Linked DNA regions of Homo sapiens: region 2 is linked to region 1. Evidence: promoter capture Hi-C in human tissues and cell types (Jung and others, 2019). All regions are on one chromosome and are shown on one strand. Each heading gives the region's core, a stretch centred on a gene start or on the middle of the fragment in contact. The rest is flanking DNA. Distances are from core to core; before and after follow the strand shown.

Region 1 (4,723 bases), core at 1,928-4,427:
TGTCAAAACTAAGAAACCAACATCGAAATATTACTATTGACTTGGCCATGCATGGTGGCTCACGCCTGTAATCCCAGCACTTTGGGAGGCCGAGGCTGGCAGATCACCTGAGGTCAGGAGTTTAAGACCAGCCTGGCCAACATGGCAAAACCCCGTCTCTACTAAAAAAAAAATACAAAAAAATTAGCCGGGCGTGGTGGCGTGCACCTGTAGTCCCAGCTACTCGGGAGGCTGAGGCACAAGAATCACTTGAACCTGGGCAGCGGAGGTTGCAGTGAGCTGAGATCACGCCACTACACTCTAGCCTGGATGACAGAGTGAAACTCTGTCTCAATTTTTTAAAAAAAGAAAGAAAAATATTACTATTGACTAAATTCCAGACTTTCTTTGGCTTTCACCAGTTTTTTTCTCTAATGTCTCTTTTCTGTTCCAGGATCCAATCCAGGATATAGTACATCTAATCAGGGGTCTGTGATTGTTTCTCACTTTGTTTATTTTTTATGACCTTGATTGTTTCAAAGACTACTGGTGAGGTGTTTTGTAGGATGCCCCTTAGATTTTTAGAAAACTATTCTCTATAAATGGTGCAGTTCTGTAAGGGAATTCATTGTATACACACACTCCCACATATACCTAAAAACCCTTAATCTTCAGTATATTGATAATAACTCTTTCTTTTCTTCTTTATAAAGAAAAACCTCCAAAAATAACATTAAAAATGGTGACTCTCAATCCAAGCCTTTTGCTACAGTGGTTTCTGGAGAGGCAGAATCAAATCATGAAGTAATCCACCCCCAACCACTCTCTTCTGAGGGCTCCCAGACATATATAATGGTACGTTTCTTTTTAAAGGGTATGTGTTTTAGAAACTGCACTTAGAAAAATGGGCCATCTAAGCAAATTATTTTGTGTGAAATGATTATGCTTTACTAGAGATTCTGTTGTACAATTAATTCCTTACTGTAAAGAAAGAATACTGGTTAAGGTGATTGATTTAGCTTTATCCAAATTGGGCTGTCAAATTGTTCACAAAGTCAGTGCTGTAATAACTTTAAGAATTTTTTAGGTGAAATTTATATAACAAAATTAACCATTTTAAAGTAAACAGTTAAGGCTGAGCGCGGTGGCTCATGCCTGCAATCCCAGCACTCTGGGAGGCCGAGGCTGGCAGATCACCTGAGGTCAGGAGTTCAAGACCAGCCTGGCCAACATGGTGAACCCTCATCTCTACTAAAAATACAAAAATTAGCTGGCTGTGGTGGCATGTACCTGTAGTCATAGCTACTCAGGAGGCTGAGGGAGGAGAATCGCTTGAACCTGGGAGGTGGAGGTTGCAGTGAGCCAAGACTGCACTACTGCACTCCAGCCTGGGTGACAGAATGAGACACTGTCTCAAAAATAAAAATAAAAATAAATAAAATAAAATAAATAAATAAAGTGATCAATTAAATGTGGCCAGTACATTCACAGTGTAGTGCAACCGTCACTTCTATGTAGTTCCAAAACATTTTCATCACCCCAAAGGAAATCTCTTCCTCATTAAGCAGTCACTCCCATTTTGTCCTTCACCCAGCCTCTGGCAACCACCAGTGTGTTTCCTGTCTCTATGAAGTTACCTGTCCTGGATATTTCATGTAAATAGAATCATTAAATATATCCTTTTGTTTCTGGTGTCTTCCACATAGCATATTTTCAAGGTTCATCCATGTAGCATGTATGAATACTTCATTTCTTTTTAGGTCTGGCTACCATTATGTGGATATACCACTGTTTATCCATTCATCCATTAGTAGACATCTGGGTTTTTTTCACCTTTTGGCTATTGCTATGAACATAAGTGTGCAAGTAGTTGAGTACCTGTTTTCCGTTCTTTTGGGTACATACCTAGCAGTGGAATTGCTGAGTCAAATGGTAATTTTTGGTTTGACTTTTTTTTTGGTTTGACTTTTTGAGGAACTGTTGCACTGTTTTCTACAGTGGCTGCACCATTTGACATTCCCATCAGCAGTGCACAAGAGTTCCAGTTTCTCCACATCTTTGCCGGCACTAATTATTTTCTGATTTTTTGATTCTAGCCATCCTAGTGGGTGTAAAGTGGTATCCTATTGTATTTTTGATTTGTATTTCCCTAACGATTAATGACATACAGCATCTTTTCACATGCTTGTTGGCCATTTGTATGTCTTCTTTGGAGAAATATCTGCTAAAGCTTTTGCTTTTTTTTTTTTGATACAGGGTCTTGCTCTGTTGCCTAGGCTGGAGTGCAGTGCTGCGATCACGGCTCAATCTAGCCTCCACCTCTCTGGATCAAGTGATCCTCCCACCTCAGCCTCCTGAGTAGCTGGGACCACAGCATGCCACCATGCCTGGCTAATTTTTTTATTTGTAGAGACAATGTCTTACTATGTTGCCCAGGCTGGTCTCAAACTCCTGGGCTCAGGAGGTCCTCCCACCTTGGCTTCCCAAACAAAGTGCTGGAATTACAGGCATGAGCCACTGTGCCCAGGCTTTTTTTTTTTTTTTCTTTTTTCTTTTTTTAAGAGAGGATCTTGCTCTGTTACGTAGGCTGGAGTATAGTGGCATCATCATAGCTCACTACAGCCTCTGAACTCCTTGACTCAAGGGATCCTCCTACCTCAGCCTTCCGATTAGCTGTGTCTACAGGTGCACGCCACCATACCTGGCTAATTATTATGATTATTTTTGTAGAGGTGGGTCTCACTATGTTGCTCAGGCTGGTCTTGAACAGTTCTTCTGCGTTTTCCTCCCAAAGTGCTGATATTACAGGTATGAGCCACATCACCCAGCCCCTGCCCAGTTTTAAATTGTGTTTTTGTCTTTTTGTTGTTGAGTTGTAGGAGTTCTCGATCTGTGTTCCAGATACTAGTCCCTTGTCAGATAGACAACTTGCAAGTATTTTCTCCATTGTATAGGTTGTCTTTTCTTTCCTTTTTTAGTTAAAATTTTTTTTTTTGTTTTTAAAAATTTCTTTTGTTTTTTCACTTTCTTGATAATGTCCTTTTCACAAAAGCTTCTAATTTTGATGAAGTCCAGTTTATCTATTTTTTTATTTTGTTGTCATAGCTAAGAATCCCTTGCCAAATCCAACGTCTTGAAGGTTTATGCCATAGTTTCTTCTAACAGTTTTATAGTTTTAGCTCTTATATTTAGGTTGTCGATCGAATTTTTAGTTTTAATTTTTTCATTATGATAAAGTACACATAATGTAAAATTTACTATTTTAACCATTTGTAAGTGTACAATTTAGTGGTGTTAAATACATCTATAATGTTATGCAGCCATCACCCCTCATCTTCATAACTCTCATATTGTAAAACTGAACTCTGTTACCATTAAACAGTATCTCCCCATTCCCTACTACCCCAGTCCCTGGCAACCACTGTTCTACCATTCTACTTTCTTTCTTTTTTTTTTTTTTTTTTTTTTTTTGAGATGGTGTCTTGCTGTGTCACCCAGGCTGGAGTGCAGTGGCATGATCTCGGCTCACTGCAACCTCCACCTCCCTGGTTCAAGCAATTCCCCTGCCTCAGCCCCCTGAATAGCTGGGATTACAGGTACACGCCACAACATCTGGCTAATTTTTTTTGTATTTTTAGTAGAGACAGGGTTTCACCACGTTGGCCAGACTGGTCTTGAACTCCTGACCTCAGGCAATCCACCCACCTTGGCCTCCCAAAATGCTGAGATTACAGGTGTGAGCCACTGTGCCTGGCCCACCATTCTACTTTCTGTCTCCATGGTTTTGACTAGTGTAAGTACCTCAGATAAGGAGATCTTGCATTATTTGTCTTTCATGACTGCCTTATTTCGTTTCACATAATATCCTCAAGGTTCATCCATGTTGTGACATATGTCAGAATTACCTTCCTTTTTAATGCTGAATAGTATTCTGTTGCATGTATATCCCACGTTTTGTTTATCTGGTTCATCTGCAGATGTACATTTGTGTTGTTTCCACCTTTTTTGCTAGTGTGAATAACGCTGCTATGAACATGAATGTACACTTATCTCTTTGAGACCCTGATTTCTTTTTTCTTTTTTTTTTTTTTTTTGAGACGGAGTCTCACTGTTACCCAGGTTGGAGCGCAGTGGCACAATCGTGGCTCACTGTAACCTCCACCTCCCAGGTTCAAGCGATTCTCCTGCCTCAGCCTCCCAAGTAGCTGGGATTACAGGCATGTGCCATCATGCCCAGCTAATTTTTGTATTTTTAGTAGAGATGGGATTTCACCATGTTGGCCAGGCTGGTCTCAAACTCCTGACCTCAGGTAATCCACCCGCCTTGGCCTCCCAAAGTGCTAGAATTACAGGCGTGAGCCTCTGCTCCCAGCTAAGACCCTGATTTCTCTTTTGTTGGGTATATAACCAGAAGTGGAACTGCTGACTACATGGTAATTCTAACTTTTTGAGGACCTGTGGTACTGTTTTCCACAACTTCTGTATCATTTTACATTCCTATCAGCAGTACACAAAGGTTCCAATTTCTCTACATTCTCACCAGTACTTGTTATTTTCTGGGATTTTTTAGTAATAGCCATCCTAATGGGCATGAGGTGGTATCTCATTGTAGTTTTGATTTGCATTTCCTTAGTGATTAGTTATATTGAGCATTTTTTGTGTGCTTATTGGCCGTTTGCTATCTTTTTGGGAGGAGCGTCTATTCAAATCCTTTGCCCATTTTTGAGTTGGGTCGTTCATTTTT
Region 2 (5,464 bases), core at 1,594-4,093, 290 kb before region 1:
AAAGCCAGTCCTCTTAACCCTTATATGATTATCCTAGGATGTGTAGAGACACATAAACCAGTGTGGATATCAACTGATAATCTGAAAAAAGAAGACCTCATAAGGGCATGAGAGGGAATCAAGCCTTTTCATATGTTAGAACCTATTCCAAAGAACCAATATTTAGATTCATATGGTATTTGCTCAAACTGAGGTCTAAGGAAGGAAATGGAGAATTCAGAAATATATTAATCAAAATAGAAAGTCTAGCGTAAAAGTAGATTTTACTAAACAAAGGAATTTTTTTTTTTTTTGAGTTGGAGTCTCGCTTTGTCGCCCAGGCTGGAGTGCAGTGGCGCGATCTCAGCTCACTGCAAGCTCGGCCTCCCAGATTCACGCCATTCTCCTGCCTCAGCCTCCGGAGTAGCTGGGACTACAGGCGCCCGCCACCATGCCTGGCTAATTTTTTTGTATTTTTAGTAGAGACGGGGTTTCACTGTGTTAGCCAGGATGGTCTCAATCTCCTGACCTCGTGATCTACCCGTCTCGGCCTCCCAAAGTGCTGGGATTATAGGCGTGAGCCATGGCGCCCGGCCTTTTTTTTTTTTTTTGAGATGGAGTCTTGCTCTGTCACCCAGGTGGAGTGCACTGGCACAATCACGGCTCACTGCAGCCTAAAACTCCTGGCCTGAAGTGATCCTCCTGCCTCAACCTCCCAAAATGCTAGGACTACAGGTGTAAGTCACCACGTCTGGTCAATAATTATTTAATAAATGGTAACTGCAGAATTAATAACAACCGATGACAGTGGTAGTGAGTTATGTCCATATTTTACTCCAAATAAATAAGCCAAAATAAAATCGGGATAGTCATCAGAGAATGAAATATGAAATGAAATTGTACAAAACTAGCAGAAAAAAGACTATCAGATGGGCAGCAGAAAGCTCACTTTGTCAGCACTGAAGCAATTAAAACATTAGAATGACACACTGAACATTAGAATAAAACAAGAAAGAACAACAGGCTAGAAAATATTTGCATCAATGACGACAAAGAAGTAATATCTGTAACATAAAAAAATGCTTGTTCAAAGTTAGAAGAGGTTCAAGTCCCCAGAAGATGGATATGAATAGATTATTCACAGGAGAGGGAATGCATATAGTAAATGCATGGAAAAACATTCATTTTTGAATGTTGTGTCACCTAAGAAATGCTAAGTAACCTTGAACTAGCAATAGACTATTAAAGTAGGGGGGAAATGGCACTCAATGTTTATAAGTGTGTTAAACTCCTTACACTTGTTCCTTGGAGGCGGTAGAATAATTGGGGCAGCTCTTGGGAAAAATATGACGCTGTAAGCCAAGACCACTTGGCCATTCATAGCCTTCTACCTGGGAGCCTTTCCACTCCCAGGTATTTGTCCCAAGTGCAGAATTCAAGGATACGTTAGCAAACAACCGTAAAGAACCAAAAACATTAGGGGGCTGAGTGAATAGTTAAGGACACCTGCACACCTTAAAAATGAATCGTGAACAAATAAAAATGGTAGTGAAAGTAGTAACAAAAAAAGTGTGGTTGCAACTATACACAGTATATATATGTTTCATGTCGTGAAAAGTTGCATTTCTTTGTAACAATATGGATTACTGTATTCTTTTTAGATTTTTCTTTCTCCGGTTGTCATATTGTTTTTTCAGTGGTGCTAAAAAAAATCTGGATTCAAATCCAGCCAGCAGCGTGACTTTGAGCAAGTTTGTGAAGTGGGATATTTCTCAGAGCGGTTGAGGGAGGTGGCTTGAGCTCGCACCTGGCACACGGTGAGAACCCCAGACTTTCTTCTTGCTGTGGGGGCGCCTCTGGGCCCTGTCCGATAACGCCTTTCACGGCCTGGGAGTCTGATCGGGAGCTCCCGGGTCTCGGTGGCGCGGGAACTCCCTTCTGGAGGGAACTTTCCGGAGCAGGTGGGCGGGTGTATGTCCCACGGGCACCTGCGCTCAGGAGGAGGGGGCGAGCTCGGGCAACGTAACCGCCCACGGTCACCTCGGGCTGCGGGGCCGACTTGAAGCCGCCTTCGAGGTTCTGATCCTTCCCGGGGCTCTGGGCTCGTTCGTCCCAATTCGCAGCTGTCCTGTGCCCCCTCGCTGCAGGAAGACTCAAGATTTACAGGGCGCCTCCTGCGGAAGCCTAGAGACATCGGGGGCGCCGAAGGGCCCGCGCCGGACTTCGCAGACAGGGGGCACTTGGGTGCCCTTTCAGGTCTCAGAGGGAGCGCCCGATCCCCGACGAGGGGCAGGCAAACGGGCGCAGTGCCCGCGGCGGCGGCACGCGCGCATCTGGGATCCGGCCGCTTCTCCGCTCATGCCATCTTGTCCGAGCCAGTCACGTGCGGGCGACAGCGGCGCGCTTCGCCGGGCCGGTACTCCAGGTCCGACCCGCGAACCCCTCTGGGATCCCCGCCGCTCTGTCTACAACCCGAGGTGAGGCGCAGGCTGGATCGGGGCTGGGCCAGGGCGGGCACTGGGTTCCCGGGGACGCGTCTCCTCTTCCGGGCCGTTCCGCTCGGGGCCACAGCGCCGTCGGGGGCCCGAGGCGCCGCCGCGTGTCCTGCGCCACGGCCTCGGGGCCGTCCGCGCCGAGTTGCTGGCTGGGGGCGTGGGTGGCCCGCGGCGCCGGACCCCCGGCACACCAGCCCGCGGAGTCCTTGCCTCCCGCGCGGCCCCAGCCAGGAGGGATGGCGCTGGGGCGGGAGCGGGGCAGCCGGGCCCGGGAGCTCCACGGGCGCGGCGCGAGGGGCGCAGGCTGCCTGGAGGACCGCGGAGCTGGGGGTGGGGGGGCGCGGGCGCATGCGCCCTGCGTCCGTGCCATATTGGAATGAGTCGGAGCGCGGAGCGCCGCCGCCGCCTCCGCCGGAGCGCGGGTGGAGGGGGGCGGGGAGAGCTGCCGGCCGCCCCGCTCCGCCGAACCCAGCAGGAAGGAGGGCGCGAGCGGGCGAGCGCGGGCAGCACGGGAGGAAAAAGCTTCCGCGCGGGGGAGCGAAAAGACGGAAAGAAAGAAAGAAAACGAGCGCGAGAGGGGGAAAAGCGAGCGATCGAGCGAGCGCGCGCGCGAAAACTCCGGGCAGGTAAAAAAGCGGGGCCACCGGCTGGGCCTTCCCGCGCGGCGGCCTGGAGGGGCGGCGGCGGCGCCGGGGCGGGGGACCGTACGGCGTCCCCTTCGAAGCGGCCGCGCAACTTTGCCAACGGGAAACCGCCGGGCGCCGGCGGGCGCGCGGGCTGAGGCGCCAACGGGCGGCGGCGGCGGCACGTTGGGGGCGGGGGCGGGGCGGGGGGAGCGCGGCGCCCGCGCGCGGCCCCGCGGTCCCGCGCGCCGGCCGGCCGGCTGCAGGGGCGCGCCTGGGCGCCTCGCCGCGGCGGAGAGCGGCGGCGGCCGTCAGCCCCTGGCAGGCAGCGCGGCGCGCGTCAGCCCGCGGGAGGCGTGAAAGGAAAGTGGCCGGGCGGCGGCAGTGGCGGGCGCCCAAGTTCCCCGGCGCGCCGGGCCCGCCGCGCGCCCCTCCCCGCGCGCGCCCCGCGCTCCGCCCGCCGAGCCCCCGCGGACCCGCCCCCCGGGCTCGCTCCGGGCGGGGCGCGAACCCGCAGCTGGGGCCGGGCGCGCGGCCGGTCGGAACTTCGGAGGGCCCGGGCGGTCGCTGCGCGGTGGCGGAGCGTCTAGTGGCCGCCGCAACCGGTGGCTCCGGGCCGCCGTTGTGAAGTGAGCGGGCCTCTCCCGCGCCGCGGCCCGCCGGGCACCGCCGCTGGACCCCGCGCCGACCCGGCAGCGCCCCGACCTGCCGCTCGGGAGGTCCGCGACCGTTTCGATTTCTGTTCCTAAAGTCCGATTTTGGACGCTGAAAAGGAGGCTGTGGAGGGGCGAGCGGCGTCCTGGGAAGCAAGGCCTGCTCTGTGCGGAGCAGAAACGCCTTGTGCGAACAGAAATAAATTCCCGCGGAAAGGATGTACGTTATGCTAAGTTTTTCACAAGATGTCAGCTGTTCCCGTAGGGTCTAAAACTAAGCCGGCAGGCACAGGTCACCCCCAGAGCTTGTGCTCAAGGAGTGGTGGACGCTTGGGTCAGGTGGGGGTGTTCCCAGCGGGTCGCCCGAAGCAGCACTGGTTGATGGTCCCAAGTGGTGTTTTTGAGTCCTGTTAGCAGTGATCTGTGTTTGAGAACCAAGTAACCATCAAAGAGATTCGAAAGGAAGTAAGATGGATTTTGTCAATCCCTGCGTATGTCTTCTCTTGAACCACATTTTCTAAGATGTCATTCTTAATTTTATTGCATCTGGGTAAAATGCCTGAACGTGTAATCATTAATTTGTCAACTGGCGAGAGGATGAAGGAAGATGTGTCTTCATGTGTACACTTTGAGGCCTGTTGACTAGCGTTTTGAGGCATTTGTTGAATTAGGCCGTAGGTAGATTCGGAGTTAAGATTTGTTTGCGATGTCAGAAAAGTTACGGCCTGGTAGAAACGGCCAGAGATCAGGAAACAGTTCTGTTATTACCGTTGTCATTGACTAACTGCCTTATCTTGGGCACATTTCTTACCCATTGTAGCTTTGATTTTCCTTATTTGCAACATTAAGATAAACAGATGATGTTTGGGGGTGCTTTCAGTTCGAAAATTCGGTGGCTTTCTTAACTGAAAGATTCTTAGAAATCACAGTGTATATTTTGAGAGGTACTACATAAAAGTGCTCGCAATGTGTGTCTTTATTAAAATTCATTTGGAAAAAACATCTTGGTAGCTAGATCCAGAATGGTTTTATATGATTATTTGAATAGATTTTTAACAATGTATTTTTATGGAGGTATGTATAACCTACCGAAAGATCTTAAGGGTACAATTCAATGACTTTTTATATATGTATATGCCCTGATAACCACACTCAGATCAAGATATGGAACATTTTCAGGCCTTGTATCCTTTCCATTCAGTAAACACATTCCCCCTCCCCAAGGCAACCACAATTCTGACTTCTGTCACCACAGATGAGTTTTGCCTCAAAACAGGACCCTTTTGAGGGTTAAAGGGGCAATACTAACAAACTGAGGATAGCTTGTATGTAAACTTGGAGTTATGGCCGTGTTGGCCATGACCCTTTGCTTTTATAATGATTCTTAGGGTTTTTGTAATCCAGAATAACTTAAAATTCTGTCCTGAGGAACTTCTTAGAAGGTCACTTTTCAGTGGGGGCAATACTTTGCAGGTTACGATTGGTAGTTCTTGGGAGTCCTTATGTTCACAGACAATGGTATTAATCTATGACTTCCCATTTTTAGAATATAGGTACTATATATTTGTAGACAACAGATTTGAAGAATGAATCATGAATTTTCCTAACAAGTTAGAGTTTAAGGTGTCAGTAGATGAATCAGTTTCTTAATGCCTAGAATTTGCTGAGAAAATTGAATGAAAATTGGTTTCTTAAAGTTAAGTGAATTAAGAAT

The links. The method cuts DNA at HindIII sites, captures the fragments that hold promoters and counts their contacts. A contact is called where the count stands out against the background at its distance.
Region 2: a contact is called between the fragment with the promoter of SFMBT1 here and a fragment that was not itself captured in region 1, in 1 of the 25 tissues and cell types used here (hippocampus).

The regions. Positions count from the first base shown.
Region 1 is chr3:52,756,906-52,761,628 of GRCh38, reverse strand. NEK4 (NIMA related kinase 4) reads left to right here. Exons shown (of 16, transcript NM_003157.6): 6 at 693-834. Among named protein-coding and RNA genes, the nearest start is that of NEK4, 12 kb to the left of the region's middle. The HindIII fragment of the contact is 5,152 bases long and covers 602-4,723 here.
Region 2 is chr3:53,043,452-53,048,915 of GRCh38, reverse strand. SFMBT1 (Scm like with four mbt domains 1) reads left to right here and starts at 2,843. Exons shown (of 21, transcript NM_016329.4): 1 at 2,843-3,100. RefSeq lists enhancers at 1,526-2,025, 2,026-2,527 and silencers at 2,515-2,624, 2,675-2,994, 3,095-3,154, 3,515-3,804. The HindIII fragment of the contact is 17,124 bases long and covers 1-4,236 here.